Linked DNA regions of Homo sapiens: region 2 is linked to region 1. The links are contacts of gene promoters, found by promoter capture Hi-C in blood cells and fetal thymus (Javierre and others, 2016). All regions are on one chromosome and are shown on one strand. Each heading gives the region's core, a stretch centred on a gene start or on the middle of the fragment in contact. The rest is flanking DNA. Distances are from core to core; before and after follow the strand shown. Region 1 holds the start of UMODL1-AS1 (UMODL1 antisense RNA 1). Region 2 overlaps C2CD2 (C2 calcium dependent domain containing 2).

Region 1 (4,728 bases), core at 643-3,142:
GCAGGACAGCACACGCAGTGTCTAAGGAATATTCTCCCCAGGGAACTGGTCTCGGCTGCTCCTTCCAGCTAGAAAGCCCTCAGCAGGGGCTGGCAAGCCAGTGGCTGGGCGCCTCTGCCACGCCTGTGTCCGGGCCGACATTGCTAATCAGTCACTGCATTTTAGGTCCCTACGTGGCCTCCTCCTGCTGCTCAATTCAGCATCCCAGGTATCCCCGACCCACTCATCAGAACTGGTCCACAGAAAAGACTGGGGGCCGATACAGCAGGACTAGAGCTCAGCGGCCCCCATCGGGCCTCTCTGCAGCTTCTCTGGGCTTCCACACTGTCTCGGGCTCCAGGCCACACCCTCTCGGGCTCCAGGCCACTGGGGAAGGAATCCCTCGACCCCGGGCTGCATCCTGACTTCTGTGGGCCCAAGGAACTTGGCCTTCATGGACCCCTGCACCCCTCCACTTAACAATCTATCAAAAATTACATTTTATAATGGCATTTAGATAGAGATGAGTGTAATCCAAGCTAGATTCATTGTTTTATGTATATTTACTATCCTTCTATTAATTTCTTTCTTCTGATTTTAAAATAAATTGAAATGAAAACATTTCTGTAGGCCCCTAACATTACCATAGGTCCTCAGCCCTGTGCCTATGGAGAATTGGGCTTTGCCCCACCCCCAGATTCTCGGGCAGGGGGTCTTCCCAGAGTCGGCAGGGGGGTCGACACGTACCCTCACAGGCCCGGCCTGCGCGGGAGGGGGTGGCGTCCCTGGTGGTACGGCACTGGCAGGTGTAGGAGCCCTCCAGGTTGATGCACCAGGCAGCCGGTGAGCAGTCGTGTTCCGCGCTGTCCACACACTCGTCCCAGTCTGCCAGGGGGAGACACAATCAAAACCCATGAGAAAACAGCCAAAGAGTGATCAGAAGACAGACCCATGCTGGAAGGAGTCCTTCCTAGCCGTCTTTGCAGTGAACGGCCGGGAGCAGGGGCATTTTGGGGCATCCGTCCAACACTCTCATGACAACCTTACGGCCTGCCTGTGCCCACCTTCACATTGGTTGGCTTATTTGGGGGCAAAGATTAGGAAATGTTCATTCCTTAAATATTAGCACCCATGGGTGTGCATGTAGCCCTCTCTTCTTTATTCTGTTTCCACACCCAAAACTTGAAATGTTTTCTCCTCTCTCTTTGATGTGCCAACATTCTCCAATACTTAGTGTCTCAACCAAGAAATAGGAAAGTAACTGAGCCAGGGGTGGGGACACAGCTGAGTATAACGTGAACTTTCCGCATGGGGGGTGGGGGTCCAGCGGAGTATAACACCAGCTTTCCACGCCGGGGGTGGGGGTCCAGCGGAGTATAACACCAGCTTTCCACGCCGGGGGTGGGGGCCAGTGGAGTATAACATGAGCTTTCCACACCGGGGGTGGGGGTCCAGCTGAGCATAACACCAGCTTTACATGCCAGGAGTGGGGGTCAGCCTGAGTATAACATGGACTTCTCTCGTGGGGGGGGTGGGGGTCAGCCTGAGTACAACATGAACTTCCCACGCCGGGGGTGGGGTCCAGCGGAGTACAACATGAACTTCCCGCGCCATATTCTAGAGCACCCGGGTGTCTCCACAGGTATGTCCCTCCTCCTGTGCCCAAAGACTTGTGATGTCATGTCACCGGGGGGCCCGCCTGAGGGGAATGAAGGTGAGGACAAGGACAATGTAGCTCCCATGGGGTGGCTGAGCCGAGGTCGTCAGGGCCAGGCCCTGCTGGAGGTGACAGTGCCTTCTGCGCGTGCTTCTGTAGAGCTGCGGGTGGAGGTGCTCGGGAACGAACCCACACCCGGCATGCCAGAGAAGTTCCAATTCAGGTGGAATTTAAGCCACGATGCAGGACCAGTTCAGTTCTGGGCAAAGAAAACCCTGCTGCTGAGTGCTCTGAGGCTCGTTTTGTGGGTTTTTTTCTGTTGTGCTTCCTGCGGTCTCCACAGAAGCAGCTTCCCTGGAGAACAGCAAGCTCGTCAGCTGCCACAACAGCTATGCCACCACCCTAGCATGGCCTGGGGGCTGCCTTGCCATCAGAACACTGCTGGTGCCAACCCACACCTCTTCCTGGGGTGCTACTCAACCTCCAGCCTACAGGTAACTCTCCTGGGGGTGCTCCGGGTTGGGGTTGGAGCCTAGGCTGGCTGGGCTGCAGTCCACGGAGGACAGCAGAGGCACCAGGCAAGACGCTGGCTCAAACCACCAAGCACCTGATGTCTATTTTGGGGCGTGGTGATTCACCTAATCTTCACTCCTCCGTCCCCCCAGACAGCTCCCAAGCGAGCTCAGAGGAAGGCGCTGACAGCTGTATTTAGTCTTGCATTAAGCCTTGAGGCTTGCCGGCCCTCCAGTTCAGAGGAAGAGGCAGGTGTGGGAGCAGGAAGAGCTGCCAGTGAGCCTCTGCACCCTCCCGGGCTGGCCAGGCGAGGGCGCAGAGCCAGCGAGAGCCCAGGGCAGGACGCTGCACACTGCTCCCACTGGCCCCGCAGCTGGGACAAGGGCTGAGCCCTCTCCTGGAGCAATGGGGGCAGCTGCTTCAGAGACTCCCAGCCCAGGTGCCCCTCCTGAGCTGGCCCCACCCAGAACAACAAGCTGGAGAGGGTCCAGGAGCAGGTACAGACCCCAGATCTCCTGGGCCACCCTGTCCCAGCAAGGTGCAGGCTCCTCAGTTGGACCATGAGCTGTCTTTCAGGGCCCAGGGCGTCCTCCAGAAGTGATGCCCCTCGGACTCTCCTGGGGGCGTGTGTCAGATTCACACTGGGAGAAAGAGGGCACAGAGCACCTCATCCTAATGCCACCGCAAATGGACGCTGGACAAATAGCGGTACCCGTGAACCTAAGGAAAGGAAGCAGCCTGCAGTAGGTTAGCCTGGCCAGCAGGTGAGGGGGATGGTGACAGCCCTAGGCCAGGATCCTCACTCACGGCCCTTCTCTCACTCTGCAGAGGGGATGGAAAGGGCTCGCGCAGTGGCGAGGCGGGTGGGAGCAGGCAGCAAACTGGAAGCTTTGGGGAGCTCAGCTCCACCTACTCTGGCCCCAGGAAAAGCGGCGTTGATTCCAGAGCCCCAGAAGACCCACAAGGCCTCTTACGCAGAAGGATGCCGGTGGGAGTCCTGCTCCTCTGGCTAAGGTCGGTGCAGAGGGTTCACAGCGGTGCCTCATAGAAGCCCAGTGATGACCCTCACTCTAGAACAAATGCACACTGTATGAGAATCTCTCCTGAGAGCAGATGTTGGGAAAGAGAAGGAATAGGGGCCGTGCTGTTAGGAGCAAGAGATTGAATGGAAATGATGTGAGGGGTTCAAAAAGGAGCCCCGTGAGGCGGAAGGACCAGTGGGAACCCAGGGGTTGCTAGGAGACCTTCCTAGATGAGCTCTCATCCAAGATATGAAAGTTAATCCTGGAAGAGTTAGCCCTGAACGCTGGAGGGGCCATCAGAAATGCACTGTCGCCATGCACAGGCACTGGGCTAAACCCACACAGGCATTGTGCCTTAATTTACTCCATCGCCATAGGAGGTGGGATGTTGCTGTAATCTCATTCCACAGATGAGTATACTGAGGCCCAGGGAGAGGAAGTCATTTGTGCAGCATCCCACAGTGAGTGAGTGTCAGAGCTGGGATTCCAACCCGTTCCGCCTCACTCTAACCTCTTCCTATGGGGCAAAGTGAGCAGGAGGTTTGGCCGCCGCTGTGAGGGTGCAACTCATAGGCGCGGGGGGCGGCTCAGCCTCCAGGCCTCCCAGCACATGGTACGTACCTCCTGGGGAAAGACCGAACACATGGCCACCTACACAGCCCACCGTGACTGGCGCAGGAAACCCCAGGCCCCGGGATGGACGGCCTAAGGGTAAAGATAAGGTCACGACAACCTGACCCCTCCACGGGCGAACAGCGCCTCATCTATCGGGGTTGGGACATGTGGACGCACCGGCAGGGAGTGCTCCTGAATGACTGAGGAATGCTCTAGTTGTGCCAACAACATTATTTCTAGGTGGACCACAGCGCAAATACCTTTTCTTCTTCAGAGGAGCTCTTTTTGTGTTTTCGTTTCTTGTTTTTTTTGCCGAGTAATATCAAATGTCTTCTTCTACAGATCCTCGCCGTGAAGGTGGGGCTCTCAGCGGGGGTGGATGTCCCCCTGTAAGCTGGGCTCAGGCCTCGTGCTGCCTCCCCAGGCAGGGGCGGTGCCCCATGGTTGCTCCCCCGACTCTGGCGTCCGAAGACACCAGTAGTCATGGAGTCAAAAGAGTGCAGAGGCAGGGCCGCCTCCCCGGCCATGCACGGCCTGAGGCGTCACCATCACTGGCCACACAGCTGACCCCCCAGCTCAGGAGACCTGCCCGCACCAGCACCTCAGCTCTGAAATGTGGAGGAAGCAGGCCACAGCCTGCCCGGGACCCTGCCGGGCAAGAGCCTGCAGAAGGAGCTTAATAACTTCTGCAGGACCACTGAACAGCGTGGGGAGTGGGGTGCTGCGAATGCTTACAATGGATTCATCCAGTCCTAGAGGTGCAAGACACGGGTCTCCTGTGGCTGCCATCACAAACACACCAGCTGGGGGGCCTGAAACAGCACAGATGTATTCCCGCCGTTCCGGAGGCGAAGTCCAAACTCCAGGTGTCAGCAGGGCCGCCCTCCCTCTGGGGCTCTAGGAAAGGGGCTTTCCCAGGCCTCTTCCAGTGTCTTATCTTGT
Region 2 (4,728 bases), core at 2,229-4,728, 210 kb after region 1:
CTTGCTTAGCTCTCCCACATTCGCTGAGTCCTGTGTCTGACCTTGCCCAGGTCAACAACTGGGCAAGGTGGGGCAGTCAGGGGAGTGGAAAGTTCTCACTGGAGGGGCACTGTCTTAACATGGTGTTGGATTCTCAGCCTGGTGAAAGTTCATAACTGCCTCCTCCTCTTGTGGGAGGTTTTATGGTTTTTTGGATACTACCCCGCTGGGTCCCCCACCTGCAGTTCTGGGACGCAGGCCCTGCCCCTCCTTTCGTTACCAGAAAAGGATCTTGATCTAGACCCCAAGAGAGGGTTCTTGGATCTGGTGCAAGAAAGAATTCGGGGCGAGTCCACAGAGTAAATTGAAAACAAGTTATTAAGAAAGTAAAGGAATAAAAGAATGGCTACTCTGTAGGCAGAGAACCCGTACGGGCTGCTGGTTGGCTCTTTTTCTGGTTCTTTCTTGATCATATGTTAAACAAGTGGTGGATTATTCACGAGTTTTCTACGAGGGGCGGCGATTTCTCAGAACTGAGCATTCCTCCCCTTTTCAGACCACGTAGGGTAACTTCTTGCCTTTGCCATGGCAGTTGCAAACTGTCATGGTGCTGGTGGGAGTGTCTTTTAGCATGCTAATGCGTTATCCTCAGTGTATCATCGGCAGTGAGGACAGCCAGAGGTCACTCTCATTGCCGTCTTGGTTTTGGTAGGTTGTGGCCGGCTTCTTTACCACATCCTGTTTTATCAGCAGGGTCCTTGTGACCTGTGTCTTGTGCCGACCTCCTAGCTCACCCTGTGAGTAAGGGCACCTCACCTCCTGGGAGTGCAGCCCAGGGGATCCCAGCCTCATTTTGCCCAGCCCTTATTTGAGCTGGAGCCGCTCTGGTACTAATGCCGCTGATGCTTTTGCCGCTGCCCCTGATGCCCCTTCCTCAGTTTCTTCCCCTGGCAGTGCCCCCACTGCCCATGCTGCGGGGTCCTGTCACGTGGGCAGGATCCCTCTTAAAAGACCTAGGCTGATGTTCCCACTGTGGGTTCTGATGCATGGTCCATGGAGCCGGCCCCCAGGCTCACCTGCCACGGTGCAGGCTGCACCTGGCACCTGGACCGGGCTCTCGGGGGACTGAACAGAAGCACTGGGCCTGGCGTGAGGAGGACGTGCTCCCGACACGTCTCCCTTGGTGGCTTTGGGAATTACAGCACAGCTTTCTCCTAAGGAGTCCTCCCCAACTCCTTTCTCCAGCACTTCTCTCTTCTCAGTGTGGGTCAGTGGCTAAACAAAAATCTGTTCCTCTACTCACAACACTCCTGACGCCAAATGTGTAGATTTTCTATGGCAAGCAATTTTCTGTTTCTCTGCAGACACCAACTGGGTGTCCTACAATTTAATTCAATTCTGGCATTACCTGGAGTTAGCTCAGATCCCACAGGTGAAAGGCTCAGCCCCACAAAACCACCCTTCCACTTTAGATGTCAGGTGCAAATAGTGGGTCCCCAGGTTACCACACTTTTGTCCCACTTGGCTACAAATTGGGGTTTCCATGACACACTCCTCGGGTTCCGTAATTTGCTATAATGGCTCACAGAACTCAGAGAAACACTTTACTTGGGTTTACCAGTTTATTATCACACAAATGCACAGCCAGATGAAGGGGCTCAGGGCACAGTCTGGGAGGGTCCTGAGTGTGGGAGCTTTGATCTCCGTGGAGTCGCCCCTTTCCCAGTACGTGCATGCGTTGGTTCACAACCTGGACGCTCCCTGAGCCCTGTCATTTAGGGGGTTTATGGTGCTTCTATAAGTAGGTATGTAGGCATGATTGATTCACTTATTGGCCTTTGGTGATTTGAGCTCAATCTCTAGCCCCTTTCCCTTCCCCACAGGCGAGAGGAGGGCAGAAAGTTCCAGCCTTCTAACCACAGGGTTGGTGCCTCTGACATCCAGTGCCCGTCCTCATTAGCATTCACTCGGATGGGGTGCAGGGGCTTATTAGGAATGAGAAGGATGCCCCAGCTCCGTGGCTCTGGAATTCAAAGGATTTTTTTTTTTGTTCTCTGTGCCAGGAACCAGGGAGGAAGACCAAGTATCTATTTATTATTCCCCAGTGTCACTGTTGTCACCGGTTCTTGGCCTCTGTGGTCTTATCTTGACTCCCTTTGGAAATGCAGCATCTGTAAGCCTCAGGCCATGGCCAAAACCGAGACAGAAGTTCCTTTTACCATCCTGCTACTTTAATAGCTTTGCCATTTTGACTTTACCTGAGCAGGAAAGTGTAAGTTACAAGCATCAGCTCTGAGTCAGAGAGACCTGCTGGTCATCTCAGCTCTGGGGCCTCCTGGCTGCTGGACATACTCCTCAATGGTCAAATGGGATAAAAGGAAGGACCTGCTCATGGGGTGTGGAATAGGAGTAAATGAGAGAATGTGCACAGAGCTCTGTCTCTGAACAGCACCTGGTTTGCCGTAAGCATTCTATTGATGTTGGCTGGTGTGTGTTGTTATTAACCTGGGGAAGGAGGTGCTTTTATTAACTGGCCCTTCATAGCTCTAGTTACTATTCTATGTATTTAGGCACTCTTGGGAGGGAAAAGGAGTCACTACCTTGCCTTTCAAAGTTCAAAATCTTCCAAAGGGTTAGATATTTTTTTTTTGTTGTTTGCTTGCTTTTGCCATTTTCCATCAACTCTATTCAGGTATAACTTAAATAAATAAAATCGGTGAATCTTAAGCAGACACTTCAGTGAGTATCTTGTAACCACCCAGGGAATCAAGCTGTAGACCAGGGGTCAGCAAACAGCAAACTATGGCCCATAGGAAAAATCTGGCCCGTCACTTGTTTTTGTAAATAAAGTTTTACTGAAACCCAGCCATGCTCATTTATTTACCTGTGGTCTCTAGCTGGTTTCACTCTATAAAAGCTGCATTGAGAAGTTGTTGCAGAGACCACCAACAAAGCCTAAACAATTGACCCTTTGGCCCCTTTTAGAAAATATCTGCTAACCATTGCTTATCGACCATTTCCATTATCCCTGGAAGTTCCCATGGAAGTCTTTAATTTTTGCTGATGAACTTAACACTGCCTTCCTTCTGGTAGAATTGTTGGTGTTGAATGGTTCGGATCCAGTGGCTGAAGTGGCCATTCGACAGCTCAGTGAATCTTCAAAGCTGAAACTCAAGTCGCCACGGAAGAAAAGCACTATTATCATATCAGGGATCTCCAAGGTACCATCGTGGTGGCTGGGGAGGTGTTCATCTGGTCATCTGTCAGTGACCTGCTGCTCCTCTGCCCTTTGAAGAAGTTAGCCCAAGCACTTGGTTAACGTCCAGAGAGTTCCATTTACAAATGTCAAATTATGTTCCTCACCCCACAAAGGAGTCATGTGTGGTGTTGTGTTTACACAGTTTATCCTATTCACCAAGGACATGGGAGACTTTCTAATCAGGGACGCTTTACACGTTGAGAGGTTGGCAAATCATTTCAAGAAAAATTATCGAAAGAGAGGAACATGATGTAAGACTCCCCTTTGGTACAGAACCTCTGCTCTCGTCACCACCCAGTCACGGGGAACTTTCACTTTCCACGTGACACGTTTCCAAAGCCTTTTACTTTTTTGCAGTGAATGTTTATTCCTTTTGTAATCAGAGAGAAATGAACATTGTAGTGTCCCCCGTGGACACCGCACTCCCTTTCTCCCCCTTCTCCCGCTCTGGGACGTCCGCTCAGAGCAGGTGGTGGCAAGTGTGTGGTTTCAGCTGTGGAGAGGCCAGCCCCTCAGGTGAAGGGCCATGTTACAGATCCTTACTCTTTTTATTACATTTTTTAAAATTGATTTTAAAATTTTTATCTATCTATTTATTTATTTTGAGACCAGCTAATTTGTTATGAGACTGGCTAATTTTTGTATTTTTGGTAGAGATGGGGTTTCACCACATTGCTCAGGCTGGTCTTGAACTCCTGGGCTCAAGCGATCCATCCACCTTGGCCTTCCAAAATGTTGGGATTACGGGCGTCAGCCACTGCTCCCGGCCCTTACTTTTTTTTGACATTTCCAAATGAACAGGTGGAGGGAGAGTTGGGAAGATTTTGATTTGGAGTAGGAGGGGGATGAGGAAGAATTCTGGACAAAAGAGTGGGTGGGTGGGCAGAGGGCACGCAGAAGATGGATTCCTCAGTGGCTGGGAGACAGGCCAGAACAGGACCTTGGAGGTGCCAGAGATGAGTCATCAACCTTGCCATTGTACCCAGAGGGTGGCCTTGCCCCACGTCCCAGAGGCAGGCGGGTGGTGTTTTGGGGGCTTCCTGAGCCCCTCCAGGGGCCCTCAGCAGGGATCCATGACCTCTCTGGAAGTCCGGGGCCCAGTAGTTGGGTTTTCTTCGCTCTTGGGTGAATGAATGAGCAAAATAAGGACAAGACTCGTGGTCATCTCCCCTATACTTTCTCTAAGATCATATTTAAAAATCACAAAGAACTCCTGGATCTTAGTATTTAATGTTCTGAATTCACCGCAGTGATTATTTTTATTGGTGCTCAGATTATCTAATCTTTATTTTATTTTATTTTATTTTTTTGAGACGGAGTCTCGCTCTGTCACCCAGGCTGGAGTGCAGTGGCGTAATCTCGGCTCACTGCAAGCTCCGCCTCCCAGGTTCACGCCATTCTCCTGCCTCGGCCTCCTGAGTAGCTGGGAGTACAGGCGCCCGCCACTACGACCAGCTAATTTTTTGTACTTTTTTAAGTAGAGACGGGGA

Evidence for each region. The method cuts DNA at HindIII sites, captures the fragments that hold promoters and counts their contacts. A CHiCAGO score of 5 or more calls a contact.
Region 2: a fragment that was not itself captured here is called in contact with the fragment with the promoter of UMODL1-AS1 in region 1 in 7 of 17 cell types (naive CD4 T cells, M0 macrophages, M1 macrophages and 4 more); the score reaches 8.7 in naive CD4 T cells.

The regions. Positions count from the first base shown.
Region 1 is chr21:42,105,698-42,110,425 of GRCh38, reverse strand. UMODL1-AS1 (UMODL1 antisense RNA 1) reads left to right here and starts at 1,892. Exons shown (of 2, transcript NR_027243.1): 1 at 1,892-2,130. It overlaps UMODL1 (uromodulin like 1), which reads right to left. Exons shown (of 23, transcript NM_001004416.3): 10 at 727-864. RefSeq lists a silencer at 2,353-2,647 and an enhancer at 2,624-2,743. The HindIII fragment of the contact is 14,881 bases long and covers 1-3,039 here.
Region 2 is chr21:41,900,094-41,904,821 of GRCh38, reverse strand. It overlaps C2CD2 (C2 calcium dependent domain containing 2), which reads left to right. Exons shown (of 14, transcript NM_015500.2): 12 at 3,073-3,200. Among named protein-coding and RNA genes, the nearest start is that of PRDM15, 23 kb to the right of the region's middle. The HindIII fragment of the contact is 9,224 bases long and covers 1-4,728 here.